2 separate regions of the Homo sapiens genome follow, and region 1 is linked to region 2. The links are contacts of gene promoters, found by promoter capture Hi-C in human tissues and cell types (Jung and others, 2019). All regions are on one chromosome and are shown on one strand. Each heading gives the region's core, a stretch centred on a gene start or on the middle of the fragment in contact. The rest is flanking DNA. Distances are from core to core; before and after follow the strand shown. Region 1 has its middle 120 kb from the start of MIR548W. Region 2 holds the start of IL21R (interleukin 21 receptor).

The links. Contacts are between HindIII fragments. The study calls those that stand out against the background at their distance.
Region 1: a fragment that was not itself captured here is called in contact with the fragment with the promoter of IL21R in region 2 in 1 of the 25 tissues and cell types used here (dorsolateral prefrontal cortex).

What each region holds. Positions count from the first base shown.
Region 1 is chr16:26,146,211-26,150,043 of GRCh38, reverse strand. No RefSeq gene overlaps it. Among named protein-coding and RNA genes, the nearest start is that of MIR548W, 120 kb to the right of the region's middle. The HindIII fragment of the contact is 4,001 bases long and covers 300-3,833 here.
Region 2 is chr16:27,399,432-27,403,423 of GRCh38, reverse strand. IL21R (interleukin 21 receptor) reads right to left here and starts at 1,250. Exons shown (of 9, transcript NM_181078.3): 1 at 806-1,250. RefSeq lists enhancers at 619-738, 631-1,173. The HindIII fragment of the contact is 8,819 bases long and covers 1-3,992 here.

The DNA.
Region 1 (3,833 bases), core at 1,051-3,550, 1.3 Mb after region 2:
TTAAGGGAATCACAAAAGTTGTATTTCAGCCAGGTCTTAAAGCATTAAGCATGAGTAATACTGTGCATAGAAAGAAAGGATTGGTGTAGGGAAGATATTACAAGTACAAATTACAGCAGAAACTGTGTAGGGAACGATGAAAAATCAGTGTAGCGGGAGCATTGAGTAGGAAGTAGTTGCCAGAGAAGAGGCTGGAGGGGGATGGTTTGGGGACAGACTGTACAAGTCCTTAAGCACTAAGCTGGGGCATTTGGAATCTATCATACAGGCAACAAGGAATCATGAAAAACATTGTATTCGTTTTTCTGGGATCTCCTTTTGGAATCATGCTCCCCCATTCAATAATTATGTTTCCCAAGTCATAAGGGTAGGGGCTGGCTCTTCCCAGTCCCTGAGGGTGACTTAAGCCAGACTCAGAGTGTTCCAGATCCATGGCCACAGCGATTAGTTTCTGAGTGACCATGTGACCCATTTTTTTGATGGAGCCCTTACAAAAATGCTTTCTTCTGTGGAATTGTTAAGAGTAATGTAGGCTTGTCTGCAAGTAGCTGTAATGACCTCATGTGAAAAAAATCTAAGAATGAAGTCAAAAAGAGATCATCAGAGATAAAATGCTGAAAGACAGAGGCGGTAAAAAGGATGGGGTTGAAAAAGAGAACACTTACTGATATTATTAAATTATTAGATATAAATTATACCTGAAGCCAGCCACCTTTTGTAAATCTGTTCCATGAGCCAGTAAATTCCATTTAGTCCTGAATCATATTTGAATTGTGCTGCCTGTCACTTCCAAGTAAAGAAGTAAGTGACTAATATAGGTATTACACAAGTAGTGTATTAGTAAGGGGATGATATAATCAGTTTCCCTTGTCAGTTAACATGGCCCCAGATGTACAATAAATTACAAATAGAAAAGGGAATAAACTGGTGAAAGGTGGACCACTATGGGGAGATCTCAAAAGAACCCGTAAGATTAATAAATGCTTAGCATAAATATGTCTTCTGCAACTATTTGCAAAACCTAACAGTCCTAAATGGGATTGATGAGAGGTAGCTGGATTCTGGACATACTTTCTTTTAAATTATATGCAAAGTATAAGTGAAAGAAAGGAGCAAGAGTGAATATAGATTTTGGCTTGGAAAGACAAAGCAGCCATTTACTCAGATGGAGAAACATTGGGAGAAACAAGTTAGGATGATTTAGGACATCTGAAATTTGATTTGGATGTATTAAGACTGAGATGCCTATGATATTCCCAAATGGTACTTCAATAGAAAAATCTGGAGTTCAAGAGAAAGCTCTGGGCTAAAAATGTGCAATTTGTAGTCACCAGCATAGAGGGTGTCTAAAATCATGAGAATGTTTAAGGTTACCTAGTAATACAAATACATAAAGAAGGACTAAAGGACCTGGAAAATGGGGTGTAACCAGCATGACAAGGACTGAAGGACCTGGAAAATGAGGTGTAAACAGCATGCAAGGATGAAGAGTGACCAATGGTGTGGATTAGTCATACAAATAATAGATGTTCTTGGAAAGTGAAGTAAGGCAGCTGTTGGAGAGAGGGATGAGTGATCAACTATATAAATGCTGCTGATAATCTAAGTACCATGAATACAGGATTTCTCCAGAGATATTAGTTGTTACTCTTCTTGGTATTTGTCCTTAACTCAAGATAGAGCCTCTGGAGGTTGTTTACCTTAATGGGGGTTGTTTAGAGTCAAGTATTTAATAGGATTTAGGTAACTTGGGATTTCAGATGTCTTGAACCTGAAATTTGGGAGAAGAGCATCTATACGTTGGATATAATATGTTAATGCCCCCAAAATTTGAGAAGCCTCTGGGGGAATTTGTAACTTGCATAACTGTGGTGGTGCAGAAAAGATGCTGAACCCAAAGATGTGTTACAAAATGCTACTTTTTAATATGATAGAGGAATAGAATTGCAAGGGGATAAAGCAATGCATTGCAATGTGAGAAACAAAAAAGGGTCCACATATGTCTGAAACCAGTGCTGCTTTTTTAAATGTACGTTTCATATATCCTTGCCTGACCCCATGATGCCAGTCCACATCATAAGGTCATAATGATTCTCCCAGATGCTGAGGTCTAATATCCATGCATTCTCTCCTCTGTCCTATGGACCTTAAGGGTCTTATAACCTGGATATGTATATATGCAAAAAGGATTCACAATTGCAAGTATCTTAAGCAATGAAGATGTTTCTTCTCACATTTGATAAAAAAGCTTGGAAGGAGGTAGTTGCAGGGTTGCATGATTCAGTAGATAAAGAAGGCCAACAAAGAGTCAGGGTCTTTTCATCAGTTCTTCCCTGACATTGTCAGTGTCAGCCATATTTGCCTTCATGGTCACAAGATGGCTGCCACAGCTCTTACATCTGTCATCCTCACAATAGCATTCAAAAGTAGAAAAAATAGATCCCTTTCCTCTTAGCCTTGGTCACTGTCATCCATCTATCTATCATCTATCTATCTATCTATCTATCTATCTATCTATCTATCTATCTATCTATCATCTATCTATCTATCATCTTTAAGGATTCTATTTCTGAGAATCTCTGAGCTGACTACTGCTCAGGCTCCACTGGCTATTAGGAGCTCACATGAATTGCTTAGATTAGTCACGGGCCATTCCTTGGGGATAGAGAAGAGGTCCTCTTTCCCTCCACACATCACCATCACTTACCAAAACAAAAGCAGGGTTCTTTTAACAAGGGAAATGGGAGAAGATAGCTGTTGTATAACACCATCTGTGTTAGGAACTATGGCCATTCACGACATAAGTTTGGGATTTAGCTATTATATTGTTTAAACCATGGGAGTGAATGACACCATTCAGAACATCTGCATGAAGAGAACTGGTCCAAAGACAGCCACCTCCCCTATTTAAAAAAAAAAAAGAAAGAAAGCCAGGCGCAGTGGCTCATGTCTGTAATCCCAGCACTTTGGGAGGCCAAGGCCAGCGGATCACCTGAGGTCAGGAGTTTGAGACCAGCCTGACCAACATGGAGAAACCCCGTCTCTACTAAAAACACAAAATTAGCCAGGCGTGGTGGTGCATGCCTGTAATCCCAGCTACTTGGGAGGCTGAGGCAGGAGAATTGCTTGAACCCGAGAGGCGGAGGTCGCAGTGTGCCGAGATCACGCCACTGCACTCCAGCCTGGGCAATAAGAGCCAAACTCTGTCTCAAAAAAAAATGAAGAAGAGAAGGAGTCTGTAAGGGTGAGACAGGATGAGAACAGAGCTGGGAGAGGTGTCTGAGAGAGGAATGGTATGGAAACAGAAGTGGGAGAGCTTCCTTGTATAAGGAAATGGCCAGCAGCATCAAATGCTACAGAGAGATCAAGTAGAAGAGGGCTAAAAATGTCCTTTAGCCCTATTTAGCAATTAAGACATCATTAATGGCCCTATTAAGCTTTTTATTAGACTTATGGGAGCAGATACCAGAAGGCAGGTGTATGAGAAGAGGAAAGTAATTGAGAGAGTTGAGAGAGGGTAAAATCTACTTTCAAAGACTTCAGCCACAACGGTGGGCTGTTGCATGGTATTTTGAAAAGTGCTACAGAAAGGTTTTTTATTTTATTTTTTAAATTAAGGATGAGATGTTCTATTTTGGACTGATGTTTATAAAGACTGAGTGAAGAGGAGGATACAGGAATAAAGTCCATGATCCTTGACGTTAAGAGTGAAGAATCCGATGCAAAAGTAGGAAATGATGAAACGTGGGTGGAGGATGAAGGATTCATGCCATGCTAGTACTTTTTAAAATTCATAATAATAACAATAATAACAGTGAGCCCACTGAGCTCTT
Region 2 (3,992 bases), core at 1-2,500:
CCTCCTGGCTTTGAATGTCCCGCACCTGGTCTTCTGCCTTCACTGAGCAGAGACGTCATTCCTGCGGCAAGTCCTAAGTTCCCGCTCCCCAGGGCTCCTCCACCAGGAATGTTCTTCCTTTCCCATCCTTCAAGGCTCAGCCTCCACTGACCTCCCCACCCTCCTCTCCTCCACATGCACAGGGAACTGGGTTGGCCTCTTACCATCCGACCCGTTCCCCGTGCTTCATGAGAAAGATGCAGCGACAGCTCATGGGGTCACCTGGCTTGACTGCCCGACCTGCTACGTCCCAGTTGAGTCACCGAGGGAAAATCACTCTACCTCTCGCAGCCTCATTGCCTCATCTGCGAAATGGGCACACCAGCCATTGTTTTGAATGACTGGGTGGAATCAAGGTGGTAAGACATAGAAACTGACACAGAATGGGTCCCATCAGGCTCTACACCCATGCCCGTCACCTCCCGACTCAGCCGCCCAGAATCGGGTGATTGACATGTTATGTTTGGCTTGAAACTGGCTTTCCTTCCCCAGCCCGCTACATTTTGGAGGCTGGTTTTCAAGATAGAGGGTCGTCTCAGCCACATCCCTGCTGCTGGGCCCCTAAGCTGTGCTGAACAAGAGACCCCAACCTCATTTCTGCCCAGCCTCACTGCATGAATCTTCTTTGCCTCAGTGTCCCCAATTGTGACTTGGGCACAGTCCTCCGAGCCCTCCCACTGTGACACTAGATGCAGCAGGCAGGGAACAGTCCCTCCTGGGCAGAGAAGGCACCCTGGTCCCAGCAGAAAACCAGGGCTGGAATTACCTTCTGTTTCGGCTTCTTTCTCAGAAATCCATTCCGTGTGCTGGGGGCAGTCTGATGGGCTTCTGGGGGTGGCAGCTGGGTTCAGCGTGGGGGTGACAGATGAGGGTCTGAGAAAGCAGGCAGAGGCCTGGGGTGAGAATCCACACCCAGCCCGAGTCACCAATCAGGCTGTCATAAGACCTGTCACTCTGATGACGGGCAGCTGGGCCTCCAGGCAGGTGTCCCACAGAGCAGCAGACAGAGGAAAGAGACGGCAAGGAAGGTACCAGGCGGCCGCAGCAGGGATGCACGGGCCGCAGACAGACAGACACAGCTGCGTGGCTGTCAGCCACACTCAGGGAGAGGCAGGCAGAGGGCCAGACGCCGAGCTTACGGTCACTCAGCAGAGAGACGCCAGTGGGTCTGTCTGAGGCCGCTGGCTGCCACCCAGCCGCATGTGCAGAGTGGGGAGGAAGAGGAGGATGTGGTGAGCCGCTCCCCGCCAGCCCCGCCCACCCGCAGCTGGGCTCCTCCTGGGAGGGAGTGAGAAAGAGGTGGGAGGGGGCCTGGCCCCACAGCAGGCACCCACTGTCACCAAAGGTCACCTGCAAGTAAGACATTTGGGGCCATCGGGGTGACACTTCCCTCTTAGGGACCTGTGACATCATCCCCACAGGCCTCTCAGTCATAACCCATGAGGCAGGCAGTGCCTCCTGGAGCCACCACATTGCACAGATATGGAAACTGAGGCCAGAGGTGTGAAGATGTGGCACAGTTTCACCCGTGGACCCAGAGTCCTCAGTGGCCGACTCCAGCCCCTCAGCACAGAGAGAAGGACCAGAACCTTGCCCAAGGTCCCACGGAAGCCCCTTTTTCAGACTTTGCAAACCAGCCTGTTTCTTATTCCTGAGCCTTACCTGCCTAATAGGGTCTGAGCTTGGGACCCTCTGCTCTGGCTTGACCCCCATGCCTCTCTGCCTCCATTTCCTTTGGATCCAGTCTCCTGCTGCAGAGCTCCAGGGAGCAGGACCCCTTGGGCACGTCACATCACCTCTCTGAATGCCTCACTTTGCCCATCTGTCAAATGGGGGCACCTAGCTATGAGGAAGAGGGCAGACATTAACACATGAGAATTCAAGAAGAAAATAGAGAAAAGAAATTCTCAAGAGAGTTTTCATCTTGCTAACATGCCAGAGGCCCATGAGAGGGTCAGATGTTTCTGGAAGACATTCAAGAAACCAGGAGACAAAATGTAACAAGCTTAATGCCTAGTGCAGTCTCCAAAGGAGAGCAAGAGAATTGCTACCACCACCACCGCTACCACCACCACCACTACCACTGCCATCACCACCACCTCGAATTACTTTGGTGCCTACATGATCTCACTTTATCCCACAAAGTGTGAGGCAGACAAGATTAGTCCCATTTTACAGATGGAGAGACTGAGGCCCAGAGGAGTGAAACGTCACACAAGCCAAGAAGAATTAGAGCTGGGATTTGAACCTGGGTGTGTTTGATTCCTAAGCTTATACCAGGCTGTGAAAACGGGGCCATACCAGGATGAAATGTCCCACAGTTGGGGGAGGCTATTTTATGCTGTTTTGATAACAAGATGCAATTTGTAGCTCTCCCTGCTGACTCATTTTTGGGAATCAACTTGCTGTTGACTTTCGTGACCACTCCAGAGAAAAAAGAGAAAGCGTCTTGCTATTCTTTCTTTCTTTTTTTTTCTAGCTGTTTTTGAGGAACTTGGTACAAATTCCCCTGTGGTTGATTTGAGGGATCCTGGCCCTGTAGAGCTCTTCCCAGCTACCGAAGTGTGTCGTGTTCTCTGGAGAACGAACCTTGGGAAGACACCAGCTTTTGTTTTTCTTTCTCTTGATCTTCGGGGTGAATTCTCTGATAACATGCACTGAAATTTGTAGTGGTTGAAAGATCAGGAGAAGAGACAGTAAAAAGAGCTAATATTTGCTGAAAGCTCATTGTGTGCCAGGGTTTTAAGGACTTTAAAGATGCACCCTCTCATTTAAACCTCAGAAATACTCGAGAAGGCTGTGTGCAGCGGTGCACACCTATAATTCCATCATTTTGGGAGGCTGAGGTGGGAGGATCGATTGAGGCTAGGAGTTCAAGACCAGTCTGGGCAACATAGCAAGACCCTGTCTCTATAAAAAAATTTAAAAATTAGACAGTCATGGTGGTGCACGCCTGTAGTCCCAGCTACTCTGGAGGCTGAGGTGGGAGGACCACTTGAGCCAAGGAGCTGAAGGCTGCAGTGAGCTATGACTGTAGTGCTGCACTCAAGCCTGGGCAACAGAGCAAGACTCTGTCTTCAAAAATAAAATCCCCAAAATGAAAAAGAATGAGTCTAGAAGATAGTTATCATCATCATCATCATCGTCCCTGTTTTACAGATGAGGAAACTGAGGCTCAGAGAGGTTAAGTGACTTGTCCAAGGTCACACAGCTGATGAGTGCCAGAGTTGGGATTTGAACTCAGTCATTTGGGCTCCAGAGCCCGCACTCTTAACTCACTACACTGCTCTGGGGTGTGTATGAAAACAAGGATATTCAATTTCTCCTCCCTCCCTCCTGCCTGCCTTCTTTATCTACCTGCTTTCTACCCACCCACCTACCTATCCACCCATTCATTCTTCTCTGCACCCACCCACCCAGCCATTCCTTGCTTCCTCCCCCTAATATTTATTGAGCAGGCTCAGAGAGGTTAAGTGACTTGTCCAAAATCACGCAGCTTGGCTACATCCTGGGGCTAGCCCACAGAAATATACACACAGTGACAGCCCCCATGGAGCCTATATTCTAGTAGGGAGAGTTAGACAAAAAGAAGTAACAGACAAACTCAATGTAAACTGTACTAAATGTCATAGAAAACCAATGAGAGATCAAGGTTGTGACATTTGGGGGTACACTAGGTGCTAAGAAGTGCCCAGCCATGGGAAGAACATTATCGGCAGAAGGATCTGCAAGTGCAAAGGCACTGAGGTAGGAAAGAATGTGGCTGGCTCCAGGAACTTGAGAACAGCATGGCGTAATACAGTGAGCAAATGGAGGAATAGTAGAAGGTGAAGGCACGGAAATCACACATCTACACCACATGGGACCTCACGGTTTTGGGTGAGGAAGGTAGATTGTTCCAAAGGAAATGGGAAGTCATCATTGGAGGGTTTCATCTTAAGAGTGGCTTAATC